4 separate regions of the Homo sapiens genome follow, and regions 2, 3 and 4 are each linked to region 1. The links are contacts of gene promoters, found by promoter capture Hi-C in blood cells and fetal thymus (Javierre and others, 2016). All regions are on one chromosome and are shown on one strand. The core of a region is centred on a gene start or on the middle of the fragment in contact, and the rest is flanking DNA. Distances in the headings are between cores, read along the strand shown. Region 1 holds the start of RFT1 (RFT1 glycolipid translocator homolog). Region 2 holds the start of ALAS1 (5'-aminolevulinate synthase 1). Region 3 overlaps CHDH (choline dehydrogenase). Region 4 overlaps CACNA1D (calcium voltage-gated channel subunit alpha1 D).

Region 1 (3,533 bases), core at 271-2,770:
TTCCTCACTGTCACACGGCAAGTAAATGACCCAGCTTGACCTTACAGGTAAGCCACCTGACTCGTAGTCCAGTGTGTTTTCCGTTATAACTTGTTTTCGTTTTATGAAGCCTATCTGAGTAGTAAGATATTATCAAAGGCTGAAAAAAAACCAACATTGTGGATAAAACAATAAACTCAGTTATTTATGTAGTGAAACAGAAAAAAAAAATCCCTAGGTAAACTTAGAATGGCTAACATTTACTAAGCACATATCACGTGCAAGGCACTCTTCAACATGCTTTCCATAGGTTATCTCATTTCATTCCTACATTGACTATTTTAAAAATACTTATTACCCTAATAAAAATAGCTACATTTATTAAGTACTTGTAGTGTGCCAGGCACTTAAGAGGCATGATTTCATCTAATCTTCCTAATGACCCTGTGAGGTTGCACTATGATTCTCATTTAAGATGAAGAAACTGATACAGAAGTCATCGGATTTATCCCGAAGGCAGGCATCTAGCAAGTGACAAGGCCCAAACTCAAGCCCCATTCTGCTTGGTTCTTTCTTCTGCCCTCCATGTGCCTCTCTAAGATAAGGGGTAGGGTAGATTCGGGACTTGTGTGAAGTAGGGTTGATTGGCTCAAGAGTGAGACAGAGAGATACTGAGCCACTTGACTTAAGAGGTTCAGCTCCTGGGGTTGAAAGAATCTTCAGATACCATTTGGACTAACTGGCCTGTATCATACCTGACAGATGACAAAAATTAGGGCCAAGAAGGGAAGTGACTTGTCCAAGATCACATAAACAGAAGATGCAGCCAACATGTATTAAATGCATACTAAGAGCCGGGTACTGTGTTAAGTACGTTTATTTGAATGATCCCAATCAATCCCTGCTTATGAGCTAAGTACGACATATTATTACCCCCATTTTACTAGTGAGGAACTCAGGCTCTGCAGGTGAAGTCACTTGTCCTGGGTCACGGAGCAATCCAAGCCTAACTCCAGATTTCTCTTCTTAGCTATGCCATATGGACTCTCGGAACTCAGTGGGACTCAAAGTTTGAGGAAGGTGTTTGATGAAGGAAATGAACCCCTTGCCTGAAAAATATCAGATTCTCGAGCACGAAATACCAGTCCCTCACCCCCGCCACCTGATCTAATTCACTCCTACTGCCATATGGGAAATAGAATGCTCAGAAGGAAAGCGGCTTGTCTGCAGTCACCCGGCCTAGACTCTAAAGGCAGGCTCCTATCTCCGGGCCAGGGTCCCCCCTCATCAATGCCACCGTCTCCGGTCGACCCCCCCACCCCCTCCATTGCGGGGTCCACCTCGGGACTGGGTCGGCCCTGGGGCAGGCTCTCAAGGGCCCAAGGGCTGCCATCCCGCGAATCCCGGCTGCAGTACAAGCTGGAACCTGAAGGGCAGAGAGTACCTGCAGGAGGAGACCGGAGGAGGCCAGCCGGGCCGCGTGGCCCAGCACCTCCTGGCTGCCCATAGCCTCCGCGCCAGGCTCAGACACCAGGAAATGCCGCCGCCACTCCGTTTAGTCGCGATAAGATGGCGTCACGGCGCGCCTCGCTGTCTGATTGATGGCCTTGAGAGAGGGGGGCGGGGCACGAGAAGTTCTGGTCCTTTAAGTGGGCCTGTCTCGGGCCGTCTGTTATGGCGCCTGGCTCTTTCTATTTCGGTAGGTTTTGCGCTGTCTGTCGCTTGTGCGCTGTCTGTCCCTCTCTTCCCCGTATAAACGAAATAGTGTGGCGAGTACTAAGAGATACCGTTAAAGAATCCAAAGTTCCTTCTCTGAGGCTTTCAGCCACCAACCAAGAAGCACTAACTTTCCTGGCCTCATCTGCCAAAAGGGGAACAAACTTCTCACTGGCCCGTTAAGAAGATTCTCACCATTGACCTTTGCTTACAGAATCACAGCCACAGACCCTCTGAATTAGGCTGGACAGGAATTGTCCTCATTTAACAGAGAAAGAACTGAGGACCAGAAGTTAGATATAGCACTGTTATGTGTATGGTTTTGTGAAATCCTTCCGAAAGCTCTGAGAATTGGCCCCTGTGGTTAGAGATGAGTAAAGCCTTGGAGATGGGAAGTGACTTGTTCGAATCTACACAACTTGTTTCCTGACTAAGTGGATACCAGGCTCCTGATCCTAAACTTATCACTCTTGCCTGTATGCTAGAAATTGTGAGGGCAGAGTGGAAGAAGGACTGGAAGTGCTTTGTAAAAAAATGTAAAGCGCCCAACATACACAATCAGCTGCTGTTCTGTCAGTGTTCTTATTATCTACCAAGCAGGCTGTAGGAAGCCCAGTCTTTCCCCAATCTCTTTCAGTCCTCACATGATTTGGCCCCAACCTATCTTCTACTACCTTTCACACGATCATTGCCCTTCCCAACACTATCTAGGCCATAGCCATTCCGAGTCCTTACTGGTCCTCAAACAGGCGGTGACTCACTGGCCTTTGCTCCTCCACCCTCTTTGTCCAAAGTGTCTTCCCTGACAGCACCCCTTGCCCTCCTAGACCACACTGTCCTGACTTTCCTGGCCAACCACAGCTGGTACCTGCTGTGGACTAAATGTTTGTGTACCCTCAAAATTCATATGTTGAAGCCTAATCCCCAGTGTGATAGTATTAGGAGGTAAGGCCTTTGGGAAGTAATTAGGTCCTGAAAGTGGAGCCGTCATAATGGGATTCATGTCCTTATAAAAAGAGATGTCAGAAAAATGATCTCTGTGTTTACTATTTGAGGATACAGCAAGAATGTAGCTGTCTGCAACCACGAAGAAGGCTTTGTAAAATGTAAGGCGCCCAACATACACTTAACAGGAACCAAACTGGCTAGCACCTTGATCTTGGGCTTCCAGCCTCCAGAGCTGTGAGAGAAATTTCTGTTTTTGACTTACCCAGTCTATGGTATTTTGTTACAGCAGCCCAAGCAAATCAAGACAGTACCCCTAAAATACTCTGTACCCCTTTATAGTTCCTAATGCAATCTGCATTATAGCAGAAAGACTAGAATATGTGTCTCTATATAATCAGCCCATGAGCTCCAAGAGGGCAGAAGTGCAGCCTGCCTGGTTTTGCTTCCTGAAGTAGCGGTACAGAACATTCTTAGGGCTCCTATAAATGTCTCCTGACACATGACTGCTGCTACTGCTGCTGGAAACAGACTGTGGAACTCAAAGCCTATCACTCCCATCTTCCCAGGTGAAATGAGCTCTGTCTTAGTGTGGAGGCCCAGAATGTGAGCTTTTCTTTTTCTTTTCTTTTCTTTTCTTTTCTTTTCTTTTTTTTTTTTGAGACAGGGTCTCGCTCTGTCTCCCAGGCTAGGGTGCAGTGGTACAGTCTTGGTTCACTGCCGCTTCCACCTCCTGGCCTCAGGTAATCCTCCCACCTCAGCCTTCCGATTAGCTGGGACTACAGGCGTGCAGCACCAGACCTGGCTGATTTTTTCTGTGATTTTTGTAGAGATGGGTTTTTCCCACGTTGCTCAGGCTGGTCTCCAACTCCTGGACTCAAGTGATCCGCCCA
Region 2 (3,533 bases), core at 319-2,818, 930 kb before region 1:
CCCAGCTGCTCAGGAGGCTGAGGCAGAAGAATCGCTTGAACCTGGGAGGCAGAGGTTGCAGTGAGCCGAGATTGTGCCACTGCACTCCGGCCTGGGCAACAGAGGGAGACTCTGTCTCAAACAAACAAACAAAATAACAACAACAACAAAAACAACCTGTGAGGCAGGCATTTCAGGGATTATGATCCTATTGCCCAGATAAGGAAAGCAAGGCCCAAAGATGAGCAAAGCACTCAATATCATCCTTATTCTGTTCCCACTTCCAGCTGCACTTGGGTCCAAGTCCAAGTGCTGACCTTTTCTCTCTCATCTTCTCTGGGTGATGGGCACTGCCCAGGATCTCTTGGCTGAATGGCACAGAACTGGGTCTCGAGCTCTCAGACCAAAGCCCTCATCCTGGACTGGTCCCACTGCCACTCTGAACCCAGGTGCCTCCTCTGAAGGTGGAGACTCACCTCACCTGCCTTGCAGCCAGCTGGGTGCTCAGAGACAGAAATGCAAAGTACCTGGACACACCCTGGTCACCATCATTCTGGACTTTGTCCCTCTTGTTAATGCTCAGCTGGGAAAGGAATACCCTCAAAGGCCCTTTCCTCAAGAATGGAGGAGAGTACCTCTGAGCCTGGCACAGGCCCAGCCCAACACAGCCCAAGCCAAGCTGGGAAGGGTGTGGGGCAAGGAAGCCAGACTGACATTCCTGAGACGGGTTTGCCAAGCCCTACACTTTATGTGTTGTACCCGGGAAACTCAATGGAGGTATGGCCCAACGCTGACCTTTGGCATGGAGGCCTAAGCCACCCTGCTGGTGCCCAGGGTGGCCAGCAAGGGGCTTCAGACAACCCTGGATGGAAAATAAAAATAGTGGCTAATATTTGTTACACGCTAACTATTGTCAGGCCCTGTGCCTTCCCCTCCTCCCCAAGTGCTCAGAGCTGTGGAGTGGATGGGTTCCACCCTAGCCCTGTTCCTCTGTCCCCTCTGGATCATCTTAGACCAGAAAGTGCCACAGCTGAGTGTCCCGCTTCTTCCGCATCCTGCCAGGACCACTCCATTTGTGGGCGATATAGCCAGCTCCACCTCCTCCGGGAAGCCCTTGTTCACAGTTTCCAAAGCAAGCCGCAGGCGGGATGGATCCTGCTTAACACCCCGGCCCAGAACCCCTTGGATCTCCTTCTTCCTCCATGTCCAAGACACCCAGCTTAACAACCCTGTAGCCCCCAACTTGGCCCTAGCGGCACCTCGCCTCGACCTTGCCATTTTATACTCAATTGGGGCGTAGGGTTCTGAAGCCCAGGGTAGTTGGTGGGGAGGCAGCACGAGGGTGCAGGATGAGGTCGGGAAAAGAGACCTCGTCCGCCCACCGCCTAGCGCTTCCTCCTCCCTGCAGGCGAGCCGGGGAATCCCCGGCAGCACCGATATCCGCAGAGCCCAAGAAGTGGGCCTCTCTGCCCCGCCCCCCCGGCTCGCCGAGGGCTACGCGGCGCGCCTGCGCAGAAGAAGGCAGCGCCCAAGGCGCATGCGCAGCGGTCACTCCCGCTGTATATTAAGGCGCCGGCGATCGCGGCCTGAGGCTGCTCCCGGACAAGGGCAACGAGCGTTTCGTTTGGACTTCTCGACTTGAGTGCCCGCCTCCTTCGCCGCCGCCTCTGCAGTCCTCAGCGCAGGTGAGGGCCCGCGCGGTAGGTGCGGCGCCGGCCGAGGAAGCCCCGGGGTGTCCTGCCAGCCGTGGCACCGCTGCCCCGGGTGCTGGGACCCCATCCCCCACTGTCCCAGTCACCCGCCGCCTTGAGGTCAGCGTTTATCCTCCAGATCTTTTGCCTAGACGGCCGCCTCAGTTTCCCCCTTTCGGCCCCTTCCGGCTATTCCCGGTTGAACCCGCCGCTTTAGAATTCCCTTCTCATACCCCTCCCGTCATTCTCGAGACCTCGACCGCGGGTCACCTCTGACCCCCACTGCCGGAGGACTGCCTTCTTTCTCCAGACTCAACTCCCTCGACTTTATAAGCCCCTGCGCGTCCCCAGTGAGGCCCAAGGCGCTGGCCCTCATACCCCTACCCTCATTTGTGCCCCTCCTTTCTCAGTTATGCCCAGTTCTTCCCGCTGTGGGGACACGACCACGGAGGAATCCTTGCTTCAGGGACTCGGGACCCTGCTGGACCCCTTCCTCGGGTTTAGGGGATGTGGGGACCAGGAGAAAGTCAGGATCCCTAAGAGTCTTCCCTGCCTGGATGGATGAGTGGCTTCTTCTCCACCTAGATGTAAGCCAAGATGTCTTATCTGCACTGTGCATCTCCCTAAGAAACCTCTGGCCTCCCAAACCTGTTCTTGACCTTTCCCTCATCCTTCCGCCCCCTTGATTATGTACTGTCAGTATTCATTTGGTGAAGTTGCTTTGCAGGTGCCTTTGTGTAGCGCTGGAGAATGAAGAAGTTGGTGACCCGGGTAAAGTGTGGTCACCATTCCTTAGCTCACATCAGTGCTGTCCTTAGGCATTTTTGAGGGAGAAGTGTTAGTATTCCAGGGTACCCTTTATATAAACTGCGGTTGACACCTGAATCCAGTGAGCTTGCAGTGATATTTGCCTGATTATTAACAACTGTTGATGTCACTCTTCATCAGTCTTTCCACAGGAGCCAGCATACTTCCTGAACATGGAGAGTGTTGTTCGCCGCTGCCCATTCTTATCCCGAGTCCCCCAGGCCTTTCTGCAGAAAGCAGGCAAATCTCTGTTGTTCTATGCCCAAAACTGCCCCAAGATGATGGAAGTTGGGGCCAAGCCAGCCCCTCGGGCATTGTCCACTGCAGCAGTACACTACCAACAGATCAAAGAAACCCCTCCGGCCAGTGAGAGTAAGTGTCATTGACAATGAAGGAGCAGGTATGGGTGTTTGTGCTCATTGGTAGACTAGAAGCAGTCCCCACAGTGGTGGTGAGGGTCACACTCACTCACAGAGGGCTGCTATGTGCAGGCTGGGCTCTGAGCACAGATTATCTCATATGATTGTCCCCCCAAGGGTAGGCACTTTTAGCTTTTCCATCTTTAAAGGTGAAACAGTGGCCAGTGTTGCACATTACAGGTTTTTGGATTGCACGTTAGTGTCTATAGGGGTTTTAGTGTTTCCTCAGTGCCTCGTTCACATAAATATTAAATTGGAATGTTCTAATTTCCCTCATTAAACATTTAGCCTTCTAATTTCCCTCATTAAACATTTGGCCTTCGGCTTTTTATTTATTTAATTTTTCTTTTTTGAGACTGAGTCTTGCTCTGTCGCCCAGGTTGGAGTGCAGTGATGCAGTCTCGGCTTACTGCAACCTCCACCTCCCAGGTTCAAGTGATTCTCCTGCCTCAGCCTTCCAAGTATCTGGAATTACAGGCATGCACCACCACGCCCAGATAATTTTTGTACTTTTAGTAGGGTTTCACCTTGTTGGTCCGGCTGGTCTCAAACTCCTGACCTCAAATGATCCACCTGCCTCAGCCTCCCAGAGTGCTGGGATTGCAGGCGTGAGCCACCGTGCCCGGCCCCTTTGGCT
Region 3 (3,533 bases), core at 381-2,880, 700 kb after region 1:
TTAGTGCTAAAAAGAAATGAGCCAGAAAGCCATGAAAAAACAAGGAGGAAACTTAAATGCATAATTACTAAACGAAAGAAGCCAATCAGAAAAGGCTACAAACCGTATGAGTTCAACGATATTACATCCTGAAAAAGGCAAAACTATGGAGACAGTAAAACGATCAGTGGTTACCAGGAGTTGGGAGAGGGATAAACAGGCAGGCCACAAAGGATTTTTAGGGCGGGGAACTAATCTGTTTTCTGTACAGTGGTGGATACAGGTCATTTTTGTCCAAACCTATAGAATGTGCAATACCAAGAGTGAACCCTAATGTAAACTATGGGCTTTAGGTGATAATGATGTGCTAATATAGGTTTATTATTTGTAATAAATGTACCACTTTAGTGCGAGGATGTTGTTAATGGGAGGATTATGCACGTGTAGGGGCAAAGGTTATATGGGAAATCTCTTCACCCTCCTCTCGATTTTGCTGTGAGCCTGAAACTGCCTTTTTAAACAGTATTTTAAAACTATAATAGAGCCTGACTCCATTTTTGATGTTTGACTACCGATAGCTTTCAAGCTCCATCCCTCCCTCTTCCCCTCTTGCCCCACACCTGGGCAAGTGAATAAAAAAGCTCTGGCATTCCTGCCTGGAGTATCAACAGGGAGGTTCAAGTCATGCAAATCCAATTCACGTGTGGGATTCTCACCTTGACTCCACTCCCTAACTATAATAATAACCAGGAACACTCACCTCTTCCTTCACAGACAAGCCTGGGTGCTTGCCCTCCTCACCCTATAAAGCTCCATTATGTGAGCAATAAACCTTATGGTAGCCACTTGGTGTGTGTGTGATGTCATTAGTCTCAACATTCAAACCAACTTTGGGTGGTGGGGGGTTGATCCCACCCTCCATGGGCAACCACAAGACAAAACAATAACACTTACAAGAGCACCAGGAAACATGACATACTTAGTAATAAACTTAAAATATATACAGGACCTATATACTGAAAACTACAAAACATTGACAGAAGTTAAAGATGACCTAAATAAATACTACGAATAGGAAGACCCAATATTTTTATGATGTCAGTTTTCCCCAAATTGATTTATAGATTCGATGCAATGCCAATCCCAGCAGGCATTTTTTTTTTTGGTGGAAATTGAAATGCTGATTTCAAAATGTATGTGGAAATATAAAGGACATAGAAAAAGGTATAGTTCAGTTGGTCAAAGAAACCCCAGACAGCAGTGAAAATGAAGGACACATAGCACCTCACATCAACATGGATGAATCCTAAAAATATATTCAGCACACAAAAAGAATATTATAAGAGGCTGTGGCCTAAATGAGATTATATATATATATATATATCTTCACATATATTTGTATATATGTGAAGTTTTAAAACATGCAATTCATATATGCACCAAATATCAGGGCCCCAAAATGAAGCAAACAATGACAGATTTGAAGGGAGAAATAAACAGTCCTACAACAATAACTGGAGACTTCAATACTCAGATTTCAATAATGGACAGAAGCTAGACAGAAGATCAGTAAGGAAACAGAGGATTTGAATAACACTATAAACCAGTTGGAGACCTAACAGATATATACAAAACATTCACTACAACAAGAGAATATACATTTTTTCCAAGTGCACATGGAACATTCTCCAGGAGAGACCATATGTTAGGCAACAAAACAAATCTTAATACATCTTAAAAGACTGAAATCAGGGAGGAGAAGAGCAAGATGGCAAATCTCTATTTGCTCCATCAATCATCCCCCTCGCCCCCCACCCCCACAGGAACACCAAGTTTGACAACTATCTGCACAAAGGGAGCAATTTCATAGCAACCAAAAATCAGGCACCAGCTTGGCCACAGTGGAGGAGAGCACCAAGAGGGCTCTTGGGTTCCCTGATTCCAGGCCTTGGCTCTTAAGTGGCCTTTCCGGACCAACCCTGGGCCAGAGGGGAGCCCACTGCCCTGAAGGGTGAGTCTCAGGCCTGGCAGCATTCACCACAAGCTGACTGAAGAGCCCTTGGGCCTTAAGTGAATGCTGGTGGTATCCTGGCAGTCCTCCCTGTGGGCCTGTGGTGGTCGCCATGGTGTGAGGCTCCTCTGCCTGTGAAAAGGGAAAAGTGGGAAGGACTGTGTCACATGGTGTGAGTGCCAGCTCAGCTACAGTAGAATAGAACACGAGGTAGCTTTCTAATGTTTTTGACTCCAGTACCTGGCTCCCGGAAAGCATCTCTATCTGCCCGGGGCCTGGGGAAACTTGCCGCCCCAAAGGGAAGGCCACAAGCCTGGCTGGCTTCACCGCTGGCTAACTGTAGAGCCCTGGGGCCTTGTGTGAATACAGGCGGTAGCCACATAGTGGTTACAGCAGGCCTTGGGCAAGACCCAGTCCTGTGCTGACTTCAGGTCTGACCCAGCACAGTCCCAGTGTTGGTGGCCACAGGGGTGCTTGTGTCACCCTACCTGTAGGAAAGTTATATTTCATCAAAATCAAACACTTTACTGCATCAAAGGACATTCTCAAGAATGAAATGACAATCCATAGGAGAAAATATTTGCAAACCATATATCTGATAAGAGGTTAATATCTAGAATGTGTTTAAAACTATAACTCAACAACAAACAACTCAAATAGAAAATGGCCAAAGGACTTGAATAGACATTTCTCTAAGAAAGAAACACAAATGGCCAATAAACACATGAAAAGATGCTCAACATCACTAATCATTATGAAACTATAAATCAAAATCACAGTGAATTGCCACTTCACACCCATCCTGATGGCTATCACACCCATCAGGATGGCTATAATAAAGGCTGCAGTGAGCCGAGATGGCACCACTGCACTCCAGCCTGGCAACAGAGCCAGACTCCATCTCAAAAAAAAAAAAAAAGAAAGAAAAGTAACAAGTGTTAATGAGGATATGGAGAAATGGGAACCTTTGCACATTGCTGGTAGGAATGTAAAATGTTGCAAATTCTGTAGAAGACAGGTTAGCAGTTCCTCAAAAAGCTAACACAGACCATGTGATTCAGTAATTCCACTCCTAGGTATATACTCCAAAAACCTGAAAGCAGAAACTTGAACAGATATTCTTACACCAATGTTTACAGCATCATTATTCACAACAGCAAAAAGGTGGCAACAACTCAAATGTCTATCAACAGGTGAGTAGGGCCGGGCATGGTGGCTCACGCCTGTAATCCCAGCACTTTGGGAGGCCAAGGTAGGCGGATCATGAGGTCAGGAGATTAAGACCATCCTGGATAACATGGTGAAACCCCATCTCTACTAAAAATACAAAAAAATTAGCCAGGCATGGTGGTGGGTGCCTATAATCCCAGCTACTTGGGAGGCTGAGGCAGGAGAATGGTGTGAACCCAGGAGGCGGAGCTTGCAGTGAGCCGAGATCGTACCACTGCACTCCAGCCTGGGCGACAGAGCGAGACTCCATCTCAAAAAAATAATAATAATAAAACAAAAAAAAACAGGTGAGTAGATAAAATGTGGTATGTAC
Region 4 (3,533 bases), core at 597-3,096, 580 kb after region 1:
AGCATGTGCATGTGCCTTTAGGGGGTGTGTGGGCTTCTTCTGGATTTGGCAGGCCTGTACGTCATGGTACTGCTCATGTTTGTCATGAAAATAAGATGAAAACATGAGGTCTAGGTGTCAGGTACCCTGTCCCCTAGGAAGGCAGCCACAACTCAGCCACTGCTCAGTTGTCCAGCCTCACCCCCTACCCTTACCTTTGAAAAGAATGAGAAGCTTTAGGCTGCTTGGAGGTGGAAGGAAATGCTAAAATAAATTCCTGAGTGTGCAAAAAAGTCTGTCCTGTGGAGAACAGAGGAGTGAGGCTCTGAGGCCAAAGACATCTGTGAATGAGGCTACTAATGGGACAGGTTCTAGACGAGGCTGGAGGGCTCTGGGCTCAGTTTGATGTGTGGCAAGCCTTCCCTTCGGGGTGCCTTGACTGGAGGACTGAGGCTCTCCTGTGACGCCCTGAGGCCTCTGGGGAGCTACTGCTTCCTGTGCTGCACCCCATTCTCTGGGACATTCTACATGCAGAGCACTTGGACTCAGTTCTCCAGTGCAGGCTGCTGGCTGGACCCCTGGCTTCCCTCCTGAGGGTGGTGGGCAGGGGCTCACTTCTTGTGCCCTCCCCTCCTTGCAGAGCTGGGGGAATGCAAGGGAAACCCCCTGGTTGTTGGTAGTAAAACCAGCCAGCATGTGGGCGTTTCTGCCTTCCTGCAGTTATAGCAGGTCAGAGGTAAATGGATCTTAGAGATGATACTGTCCTACAACTCATCTTACAGATCTGGTAGCCAAGCATAGGGGAAAAGAGGCACTTGTCCCATTGTCACCTGATGATAAGCACCAGGCTTTCCTGACATTTCTTCCATCATTTTTGACCTCATCAGCCTCCATCACTGAAGGTTGATCTGAGATTTTGCTATACCTGTTAATGGTGAACATAATTTTGAGGCTGCCTGCTTAGGACCCACACATAGACTCATTTGCTCTGTGTGTATGTGTGTGTGTGTGTGTGTGTGTGTGTGTGTGTGTGTGTGTGAGAGATTTGCCTCCAAATTCACAAGCCTGACACATTTGGCTGAGACGAATGTCGTCCTTCAGCATGAGAGTAGATGGATAAATGTCTACACCTTGGTGAAAATGCTAGTTGTGCTTACCTGAGAAGCAGCAGATTTCCCTGGTTTACTGTGTGTGGCATTGCCCATGATAACATCTGGCCCAGTGCAAGATCTTAAAGAGAAGCACCATGACCCACATCCACAGAGTGCTCCAAGTAGGGGCCTGGCCCGGCTGCCCATGCTGCAAAGGCCTTGGAAACTCTAATTACAGTCTGGGACATGCAGGGCTGCTGTCTGCCACCATCCTCTCACCCCCAGTGGCACCCAGGCCCCCCGCCACCAATCTCAGTGCACCACACTGTAAGCCTAAGGGTCTGCCCTGGAGCTCTTCCCAGAGATCCCAATGCCTGGAATAGATTGCAAAATATAGGCCTTGAGCTTCTCCAGATTTTCAGCAGGCAAATTGCAGTGCCAGCATCCTCTCACAGGTCACAGGCTTTCCTAATGCTTGGTTTTTCCCAGACTCACTGAAAGTAGTTTTTAAATTTATATAAAAAATAAACTTCTCTAACAAAGCTCTAACATTCCAGTTTCCTGAAATGTGTCAGGGAAGAGGCTTCACAGCTTGTTCATGTGCAGATGGCCCCTGGTGCTTATTTCTACAGTAGGGGACTGGCACTTGTCGGCAATGTGGGGAGGTCTGAGGGGTCTGCCTGCACCTCTAATAAGGCCTAGCCACTTGTCAGCAATTAACACTGAATCCCTGCTGAAGGGGACAAGGCCATCACCTAAATGGGGCAGTCACAATGCTATGGAAGCCAGTTAGGAGAAGCCCATGTATTCGGGTAATTTGCCCATGGCTTTACCTTCATGAGTTTGTATGACTCTTTCTGTCTGGATTTTTATAAAAGCCCAGTCGTCACCATTGCAGCCTGATTTTTGTGCTGTCGTCGGTCACTGAGCTGATATCCTGTAAGTGATCTGGTTATATGCCAGATTTTGAGTGGTTAATAAAGGTCATCAGAATAGTAAACCAGCACTGGTAGATAATAGACTCGTTTGGCTTTTTGGAACTTGTTGATTTGTGGAATTTTAAGTACATAACACCAAAATGTATACCAGTGAAACCACAGTACATACTTGAAAAGAATGGTGAGTGGAAGTTAGGAGAGATTTCTCAGTGTCAGCTGTGTGTCCCAAGGCATTTTGGCGAGTTCTGTCCTCTGAGAAATCAAGAGTTTGCTCACGTATTCTCAGAAGCCCCTTCTGGTTCTAACAGTCTATGATTCTTTTCTTTATTTTTTAAAAACATAGATGAGATCCTATTGGGGCTAAAGGAAGGGAAAGTCATATTAATTTTTTAACATTAAAAAAATGAATGCCTAATGCAAGTGAAGGGTAAAATGCTTTATTTTTAATAAATGAGGTCTTTGTTATACCCACTGAGCCTGATCTTTTCAAATATTTTTGGAAAAGGATAAGTGTGATATTTCTTCTGGAAATATTTTGGAAAAGGATCCTGTGATAGGGAGTAAGTGGCTGGAGAAGGTAGGCTGCCAGGGCCCTGGTCAGAGTGCGTTTCCTCTGCCCAGATTTAGGGGCTGGATCAAGGGCTGTTTCCAGGACCAAATGAGGTCTCCAATTTCTAGCGTAGGCACTGTCCTCTTTCTTTCCGTCTGCCTCTGCTCATCCTCAGCCCTGGCAACATCTTTTTGGGATATATTTATTTATTATGTGCCTGTGGCTCTTTAGGTGTCAAACAACTATGACAGGAGAAGTTGCTATGCCTACAGTAGGCAAAGTTAGACAATAACTCAGCTAAAGACAGAGAAAATACAAACCAAGAATGATGGCCAAAGCTGATTCAGAGGTATGGAAGATGGCTCACACTAGATGCGTCTGTGCAATGATGAAAGTGGCCAGGGCAAAATGACACTGGATTGGTCGCTTTGCTTCCAGGGAGCTCCAGGAGAGCTTTTCTGAGATGATGGAGTTAACATGTGTGGGCCTCACTGATCATCCAGCCCTGGGGACCCAGCACTCCGCATGCCTCATCTCATTCTTACCCTTTTACAGGTGAGGCAATGGAGATGTACAGAAGTCAGGTCACAAACGCGGGGTTAAACTTAGATCTGGCCAACCTGTGCACCTGCTCTCAGCCACTATCCCAACCCAGCTGAAGGACAGAATCAGCTCAGAGAGCAGGAGGACCCTGCCTCACCCTCAGTGGAGCCCTGGCACAGTGCTGTGAGACTATCTTCCCCTCTTTGTTGCTGTTTGGGGAGTTCGATTTTACTTCTTGTCTTTCCCCACAGTTAGTCTAGGGAGCAACTAGAACATTTCATACACTAATAGTTGGCAGGGGGCCAGAAATGCTAACTGATGACCCCATTCCCATAGAAAATATGTAATTTATCTGTTTCAATCAGATTGTTTTTAAAATGAAGCTTTAGAATTGAAATGCTGCAACTGTACCGATATCAGCATGAGACATGA

Evidence for each region. Contacts are between HindIII fragments. The CHiCAGO score rates a contact against its expected background, and 5 or more counts as called.
Region 2: a contact is called between the fragment with the promoter of ALAS1 here and the fragment with the promoter of RFT1 in region 1, in 2 of 17 cell types (neutrophils and monocytes). The highest score is 11.4, in neutrophils.
Region 3: a fragment that was not itself captured here is called in contact with the fragment with the promoter of RFT1 in region 1 in 1 of 17 cell types (M2 macrophages); the score reaches 5.1 in M2 macrophages.
Region 4: a contact is called between a fragment that was not itself captured here and the fragment with the promoter of RFT1 in region 1, in 2 of 17 cell types (naive B cells and activated CD4 T cells). The highest score is 5.4, in naive B cells.

The regions. Positions count from the first base shown.
Region 1 is chr3:53,128,915-53,132,447 of GRCh38, forward strand. It overlaps RFT1 (RFT1 glycolipid translocator homolog), which reads right to left and starts at 1,521. Exons shown (of 13, transcript NM_052859.4): 1 at 1,424-1,521. The coding sequence starts at 1,486. RefSeq lists enhancers at 1,377-1,566, 1,577-1,626, 1,667-1,866, 1,877-1,926. The HindIII fragment of the contact is 8,425 bases long and covers 1-3,533 here.
Region 2 is chr3:52,196,592-52,200,124 of GRCh38, forward strand. ALAS1 (5'-aminolevulinate synthase 1) reads left to right here and starts at 1,569. Exons shown (of 12, transcript NM_000688.6): 1 at 1,569-1,664; 2 at 2,081-2,257; 3 at 2,619-2,849. The coding sequence starts at 2,651. RefSeq lists enhancers at 1,111-1,180, 1,191-1,410 and silencers at 1,551-1,620, 1,731-1,810. The HindIII fragment of the contact is 12,746 bases long and covers 1-3,533 here.
Region 3 is chr3:53,829,059-53,832,591 of GRCh38, forward strand. The region is part of intron 2 of CHDH (choline dehydrogenase); the gene reads right to left. Among named protein-coding and RNA genes, the nearest start is that of CHDH, 16 kb to the right of the region's middle. The HindIII fragment of the contact is 8,035 bases long and covers 1-3,533 here.
Region 4 is chr3:53,712,527-53,716,059 of GRCh38, forward strand. The region is part of intron 9 of CACNA1D (calcium voltage-gated channel subunit alpha1 D); the gene reads left to right. Among named protein-coding and RNA genes, the nearest start is that of CHDH, 130 kb to the right of the region's middle. The HindIII fragment of the contact is 3,271 bases long and covers 212-3,482 here.